Linked DNA regions of Homo sapiens: region 1 is linked to region 2. Evidence: promoter capture Hi-C in human tissues and cell types (Jung and others, 2019). All regions are on one chromosome and are shown on one strand. Each heading gives the region's core, a stretch centred on a gene start or on the middle of the fragment in contact. The rest is flanking DNA. Distances are from core to core; before and after follow the strand shown. Region 1 overlaps LOC124902009 (a long non-coding RNA gene). Region 2 holds the start of TNFRSF11B (TNF receptor superfamily member 11b).

The links. Contacts are between HindIII fragments. The study calls those that stand out against the background at their distance.
Region 1: a contact is called between a fragment that was not itself captured here and the fragment with the promoter of TNFRSF11B in region 2, in 1 of the 25 tissues and cell types used here (mesenchymal stem cells).

Annotation. Positions count from the first base shown.
Region 1 is chr8:119,359,640-119,363,698 of GRCh38, reverse strand. All of the region lies in intron 1 of LOC124902009 (a long non-coding RNA gene), which reads left to right. Among named protein-coding and RNA genes, the nearest start is that of MIR548AZ, 36 kb to the right of the region's middle. The HindIII fragment of the contact is 4,422 bases long and covers 1-4,059 here.
Region 2 is chr8:118,949,880-118,953,493 of GRCh38, reverse strand. TNFRSF11B (TNF receptor superfamily member 11b) reads left to right here and starts at 1,609. Exons shown (of 5, transcript NM_002546.4): 1 at 1,609-1,702. The coding sequence starts at 1,673. It also overlaps a transcript of COLEC10 not described here. The HindIII fragment of the contact is 2,925 bases long and covers 1-1,968 here.

The DNA of each region.
Region 1 (4,059 bases), core at 694-3,193, 410 kb before region 2:
AAAATCCAGCAGGTCTGAATTCTCCTTATCTCCAAGGGTCAGTGAACTCTGTGTGTGTGCATGCATGTGTGTGTGTGTGTGTGTGTGTACACTCATGCATGCAAGCCTAGGCTTGTGCATGTACAAGGCTCTCGGTATGATGAGGCTCCATTGTCAGAGACAAAATGAGGAGGCAGGCTGTGGTTTCAGTGGATTGAAACAGAGCCCAGTCTAAACCAGATAGATAATTTTACCAGACTGCAAATGTGAACAAAGTGTAATGAATTGGATAATTCCTGCTCATAATAAAACTATGAAGGTAGAAAGCTCTTTGGTGTAGGGGACTTACGCTGGTACCAGGAGAGACTTGGCACCAAGCTCCTCCTTTGGGAGCCTAGGTAAAGATCTCTATATCTGAAGGTGACATGAAGAACATGAGGCTGCTAGAAAAAGCTGTGCATATTTGAGTGGATAACAGTCTTAGGAAACAAACAATCACAATGTCTACCACTTTGTTATTGAAGATGAGATGCCACTGTCACAGTCTTCCTTGACTATGTAAGTCTGGGTTCTGTTACCCACAAAGAGTAGGGTAGAAAACATCCAGAATTGGCCCTAAAGCTTTTGCTTCTCTTAGTAAGTGGATACTTAAACCAGGTTTAATTTACTTTAGTGGGAGTAGGGGATACGGTGACATTTCTTTCACCTATATTATTAATAGAACATCTGTGACTATGGATAAATAACCTAGGGATGAAGAGGTTTAATATCCCTTTTCTAAAATCACATAAGCCATTCTTCTGCCTTCTAAATCCAGGTTGTTGTTTTTTTTCACTAAGATGGGTTGAAAGAAAATTCAGAGCTTCTAATCCCTGGTACCCTCATCTTTGCTCTACGCTACTTTCTTACAAAAGCAAGTTACCTTTGAATCTAACAGGTATGGTCACTTGAGGATGAGGAGAGTTATGTGCAAAGATGACACCCCTGTGATCAGAAGACATTCTCATAAGGATTCATATTGAATGAAATAGGATTCTGATCTATAGTGTTATATTTCTGATGCACAATACTGATGTTTGCCAAAATTAGCTTCCCCTCATTCTTGTTACCTTTAATGGCTAGGTTATTTCAGCTCAACATATAGTATCTATATGGACCTGAATTATTCATGAGGCTGAAAGCATAGCTGTATTCAAAGGTGTTCTGGGTGACCTGCGTTTCACAAGCTGCTTCATCAAAGCTGAGCATGGTTCCCTGGGTTTTAGTGATGCTCTCATCTGCCAGAGACTGACTGGAATATGCAGTCACTCATGGTGAAAGGGAAACATGTTTCTCATTCAGCAAGTATGTGGTTCCATCCACAGAGTTTACAGCACGGTTGTATTTGAAGTTCAGTCCTAGAACTTTGTAGCAGTAAAAATGATCGTGATTTATAGGAAAATGTCACTCGGCCATCTCCACTATAAAAGCCTTTTATAACTCTCATCGAATATAAATCAGGATGTATGCAGCCAACAAAATGATGATTTTGGCATAACGTTTTCAAGACAAAAAGAAATGGCCTAGAATTGTCTTGGCTTTTTACTGAGGACAAATATTACAGGAATTTATTGCTGGTCCAAGATCAATATTCCTGTCTTTAAAAATAGATATGAGTAAATTTATGTCTTGGTGAAATTCCAATTACATAAATTAATTAAAGCAGTCACCACAGAGTTCACCCACAAATACCAAGGATGCCATGCCCTTTTTTTTTTTTAGGTTTTAGCTTTTGTTAAACCATATTCTAAGATACATAACTCAAGCTTAAAGCTATATTTCATTCTAATGGGGGAGGAAAAGGATGGGCCTCACAAAGGATTGATTCAAACTTGCTAAATTTCATGGTGGAAATACAAAAGAAGCTTCATATTGTACTCTTCTCCAAATGTCAACAAGATGTGAAAAATGATGATCGAACAAAAACTGCATTTGAAGTGATGGCCCCATTTTCTCATGTATTTTTGCATCACAGAATACTCAAGGTAGAGATCAGCATAAAGAAGTGAGGGCCAGGTGCAGTAGCTCACTTCTGTAATCCCGGCACTTTGGGAGGCTGAGGCGGGTGGATCACCTGAGGTCAGGAGTTCAATACCAGCCAGGCCAACATGGCAAAGCCCCATCTCTACTAAAAATACAAAAATTAGACAGGCATGGTGGCGGGTGCCTGTGATCCCAACTACTTGGGAGTCTGAGTCAGGAGAATCACTTGAACCCGGGAGGCAGAAGTTGCGGTGAGTGGAGATCGTGCCACTGCACTCCAGCCCGGGAGACAGAGTGAGACGCCGTCTCAAAAATAAATAAATAAATAAATAAATAAATAAATAAATAAATAAATAAATAAAAATAAAAAGAAGTGAGGATTGAGAGAATCCACGATCATGTGAGAATCTGGAAAGAACATCCAGTTCTGTGGCAGCGAAGGAGAGGAGGTAAAAGATCCTTACGTGACTGCCTCAGGGGTGGAAAAAGAATGTTGAGATGCATTGGGAAGAATGATCTCTAAAAGGCTATAAGGAGGTGCTCAGAAAGCAAATCAGGTAAATAAAAAAAAACTTGGCTTTTCTTTTTTTCAGGCAAGTGAGCTCACTCCCCTTACTCCTCTCACTCCAGCACTTACCTTGACATATCTCACCCAAAATATTGTTGAGAGGCAATATTAGGCTCTATGCTGGGCAACTTCGAAGTCCTACTGCTGGCGTGAAGTGAAGGGCAGTCAATATAAGAACTTTTAGGAACTGTTGAAGGAATCAGAAATGTTCATCCTAGACAAGGGAAGTCCCTAGAGACCATGGTACCTGTTGTGTAGAAAAGGAAATATACCTGTTGTGTGAGGTCTCAATGGTTTGATGTAGTATTAATAGAAAGATCTCACATTCATATATTCCACAAAATGTGTATTAAGCGTTATATGCCAGGCAGAGTTTTAGGCACTGAAAATACAGAGAGAGAGAGAGAGAGAGAGAGAGGGTTTTGATTTAATATAAAGCACAGCATTCTTCCCGTTTCTTTTTTTATTTTTAAATTTGAGACAGGGCCTCACTCTATCACCCAGGCTGGAGTGCAGTGGTATAATCTCGGCTCACTGCAACCTCTGCCTCCCAGATTCCAGCCGTTCTCCCACTTCAGCCTCCCCAGTAGCTGGGACTACAGATGCATGCCACTACACCAGACAAATTTTTGTATTTTTTGGTAGAGAATGGGTTTCACCTTATTAGCCATGCTGGGCTCGAACTTCTGACCTCAAGTGATCCGCCTGCCTTGGCCTCCCAAAGTGCTGGGATTACAGGCGTGAGCCACTGTGCGCAGCCTATTCTTCCCTTTTCTTAATCAACATTATTGATTCTAGGTAGTATTCTAAAAAACATCATTTCACATATGGTTCTACTGCTCCTTTCATTGGCCAGTGTTTCCTCTTAGCCTTTGCTTATATAGCAGAAAATCTCTATCATAGTTATAAGGATCAGATATAATTTTATTCTACTTTTAAAATTTAAAAATAGGCCAATCGCTTCCTATGAGTATGAGGTATGAACTTTTTGGTGATGCACTGGGCTGACCTACAAACCAGTGAGTTTTCTATCCTGGGGTCTTTTAAGAAGAATCCAGGTGATTACTTGGAAGTTATTCAAATATTTATAGCAAGGCTGTAGGGATTGTTTTGAGAAGACACTAAAAGAAGGATAATGTGAAAAGAGGCCTAGTGACTCAGAGGTCTGGTGTTAGTGTATATAAAGGGGTTTAATATTGAAGCAGTATTTGAAGCTCATATTCCTCTCTTCTACAACTGTCTAATACTTTCTCCTAGTTCGTGTTTCAATGATTTTTGAATAATTGTTCTCTTTTTTTCTAGTTATCTTCTTAACAATATTATGGCTTTTTTTCCCCTAACAACTCTATGATAAGGAAGAACCCTTCTCATGTAGAAAATTCAGTGCACTATGGATGTCCCAAATATACTATCATCTTTATGGTGTTAGGATAAGCATCTCCAAGGAAGAGACAATGTTCCTAGATAAGATGGTGTTATGTTCTATTCCT
Region 2 (3,614 bases), core at 360-2,859:
TTGGCATCATTTTATGTTCTGAGAAAAACACCTTCAAATAATATCCTAGACAAACATTACTCTAACAAAAACAATAATACTGCTATTTATATTGTGTTTCACTACTAACACTTGGATTGACTTGAGTCCCATGGCAAGTCTAAGTGTTGATATCTCAGGTTGCAGATGTCAAAACTACGATTCAAAATACAAGGAGTGATTTGGAGTCATACAATTTTGTCCACACTCACTGAGCTACATTTATTCACTAGTTCACTTAAGAAACCAGCATGCTGTTACATTCTGGCCCTTGAGGGACAAAGCTGAATGACACCCCGTCTTCTGTAATTTGCAGGATGGAACAGTCTGTGGATCCACTTTGAACTCGTGGTGGAAGGATGTCCCTTGGAAGGGGCAGATGCTCTGATCCTGGTAAGCCATCCTTGCTCCCCAGGGGTCCCCTCTCCTGATTCTTCACCTTCCTTCCCTTGAATCTGGTGAAAGGCAGTATTTGCCCTTCTCTGGAGACATATAACTTGAACACTTGGCCCTGATGGGGAAGCAGCTCTGCAGGGACTTTTTCAGCCATCTGTAAACAATTTCAGTGGCAACCCGCGAACTGTAATCCATGAATGGGACCACACTTTACAAGTCATCAAGTCTAACTTCTAGACCAGGGAATTAATGGGGGAGACAGCGAACCCTAGAGCAAAGTGCCAAACTTCTGTCGATAGCTTGAGGCTAGTGGAAAGACCTCGAGGAGGCTACTCCAGAAGTTCAGCGCGTAGGAAGCTCCGATACCAATAGCCCTTTGATGATGGTGGGGTTGGTGAAGGGAACAGTGCTCCGCAAGGTTATCCCTGCCCCAGGCAGTCCAATTTTCACTCTGCAGATTCTCTCTGGCTCTAACTACCCCAGATAACAAGGAGTGAATGCAGAATAGCACGGGCTTTAGGGCCAATCAGACATTAGTTAGAAAAATTCCTACTACATGGTTTATGTAAACTTGAAGATGAATGATTGCGAACTCCCCGAAAAGGGCTCAGACAATGCCATGCATAAAGAGGGGCCCTGTAATTTGAGGTTTCAGAACCCGAAGTGAAGGGGTCAGGCAGCCGGGTACGGCGGAAACTCACAGCTTTCGCCCAGCGAGAGGACAAAGGTCTGGGACACACTCCAACTGCGTCCGGATCTTGGCTGGATCGGACTCTCAGGGTGGAGGAGACACAAGCACAGCAGCTGCCCAGCGTGTGCCCAGCCCTCCCACCGCTGGTCCCGGCTGCCAGGAGGCTGGCCGCTGGCGGGAAGGGGCCGGGAAACCTCAGAGCCCCGCGGAGACAGCAGCCGCCTTGTTCCTCAGCCCGGTGGCTTTTTTTTCCCCTGCTCTCCCAGGGGCCAGACACCACCGCCCCACCCCTCACGCCCCACCTCCCTGGGGGATCCTTTCCGCCCCAGCCCTGAAAGCGTTAACCCTGGAGCTTTCTGCACACCCCCCGACCGCTCCCGCCCAAGCTTCCTAAAAAAGAAAGGTGCAAAGTTTGGTCCAGGATAGAAAAATGACTGATCAAAGGCAGGCGATACTTCCTGTTGCCGGGACGCTATATATAACGTGATGAGCGCACGGGCTGCGGAGACGCACCGGAGCGCTCGCCCAGCCGCCGCCTCCAAGCCCCTGAGGTTTCCGGGGACCACAATGAACAACTTGCTGTGCTGCGCGCTCGTGGTAAGTCCCTGGGCCAGCCGACGGGTGCCCGGCGCCTGGGGAGGCTGCTGCCACCTGGTCTCCCAACCTCCCAGCGGACCGGCGGGGAGAAGGCTCCACTCGCTCCCTCCCAGGAGAGGCTTGGGGTTAGGCTGGAGCAGGAAACCGCTTTCAAGTTATGCCATGCTTCCCCTAGGGTGTCCTTTTACGCTGCAAAGTTCCTGCTGACTTTATGGAAGACAGCAAGAGAGAGACAGACAGCGAGAGAGAGGGAGAGAGAGAGAGAGAGAGAAACTTGTTTGAAAGTTTTAGTCATTAACCTTCTGTCTTCATCTCAGAATATTAACGCCCTCATGTAGTCCATACTATCTTTGCTTAATGAACTTGAACTTTTATTATTAGTGGCAAAGAAGTGGTCCCTTAGATTCAGAGTAAGTTGGAAGAAGACGTTAGTCTTCTTAAAACCATTATAATTAGAATATGACATGATAGATTTTTCTAATGTAAATATTATGTGAAATTTTGAATAATTAGGAGAAAAGATCTCTCACACACACACTTCTTAACTGTGTAATGTTTTAATAAAATTTTATTGTTAAAATTATTTCACTTCTCAACTTCAATATACTGTGGAGAATATTGGCAGTATGTTATGTTCTAAAACATATCTAAAGAATTGAAGTTCACTAAATAGGGCTAAAAATTGTGTTTAAAATGTTATTTGGAAAAGAAAGGAATCTCTGTGACTTAGCTTTTTTTTTAAGCTTAGGTTTTGATCAAGTTAATAAGATTTGCATGTAGGTTTTTCTATGACCAATGACTTATTTTCTCTATGACACTAGAGTGTAGAGTACATCAAGATATGAATCAGACATTTATGCAAGGCTAGGAAAAGCCATATTTAAGCCACATATGTGTTTTGGATGTGTTTGAGTAAATGTTTGAACTTCAACCTCCAACCCACAAATAATGAATAGAAGGCTAGGTAGTCTTCTACTTAGTTCCTAGGATACAGAAACATAAATAAGTAAATAAATAGTAAAGACACTAAAGAACAGGTAAGTTGGATAGGAATCTACCCATAAGTATGTTAAAATATATATGTATGTATGTGTGTGTGTGTATAACTTCATCGCTAGAGATACTATGGAGTGCTTTTAAAAAAGTAAACCTTTATTAAAATATAACACATAGAGAATTGTGCAAGTGGTAAGTGCCTAATGCAGTTTTTCTAAGTGAGCACTTGTGAGCTAGCACACAGATCAAGAAATATATTATCGGCACCTCAAGAGCTTCCATCACTACTGTGTCTATGGCCAGAACAATCAGTATTCTGATTTGAACAACATAGATGAATTTTGCTTGTATTTGAACTTCCTATAAATGGAACTTATTCAATTTTTTGCATTTGACTTCTTTCACTGAAAGTTCTGTTGTGAGATTCATCTCTACTGTAGGATATAGAATAATTTGTCCGTTGTCATTGCTGTATGGTATTCCATTGTATGGACACACCACAATTGATTTAATCATCCTAGTTTTGGGCTAGTATAAATAATGCTGCCGTTAATATGGGGACATTTTTATTCTTCCTAGCCCTTTTTATTTTGTCAAAGATTTAATTAATAACAAACATACTAGCAATGAGTTAAATTTCAGGGTTTCCACTAAATAATATATGTTTCTATTTAGAAGTATCCATAAATTTAAATAGTAAAATATTTTTATATGTGGTCTGTACAGGAAGATAGACAAACATGTAGATAATACTAATTTTAGATGATACAGCATTATCAGAAGATAAGACTTCGTATATGTCTTGAACACAGTAAATACTTTATATAGGAAGAATTTTGCTTCCCCTTTCTTTAGCTTCTGAGACTTACTTTATTTTGAAAATGATTGCAAATGGACACTTTGTATTTACACATAG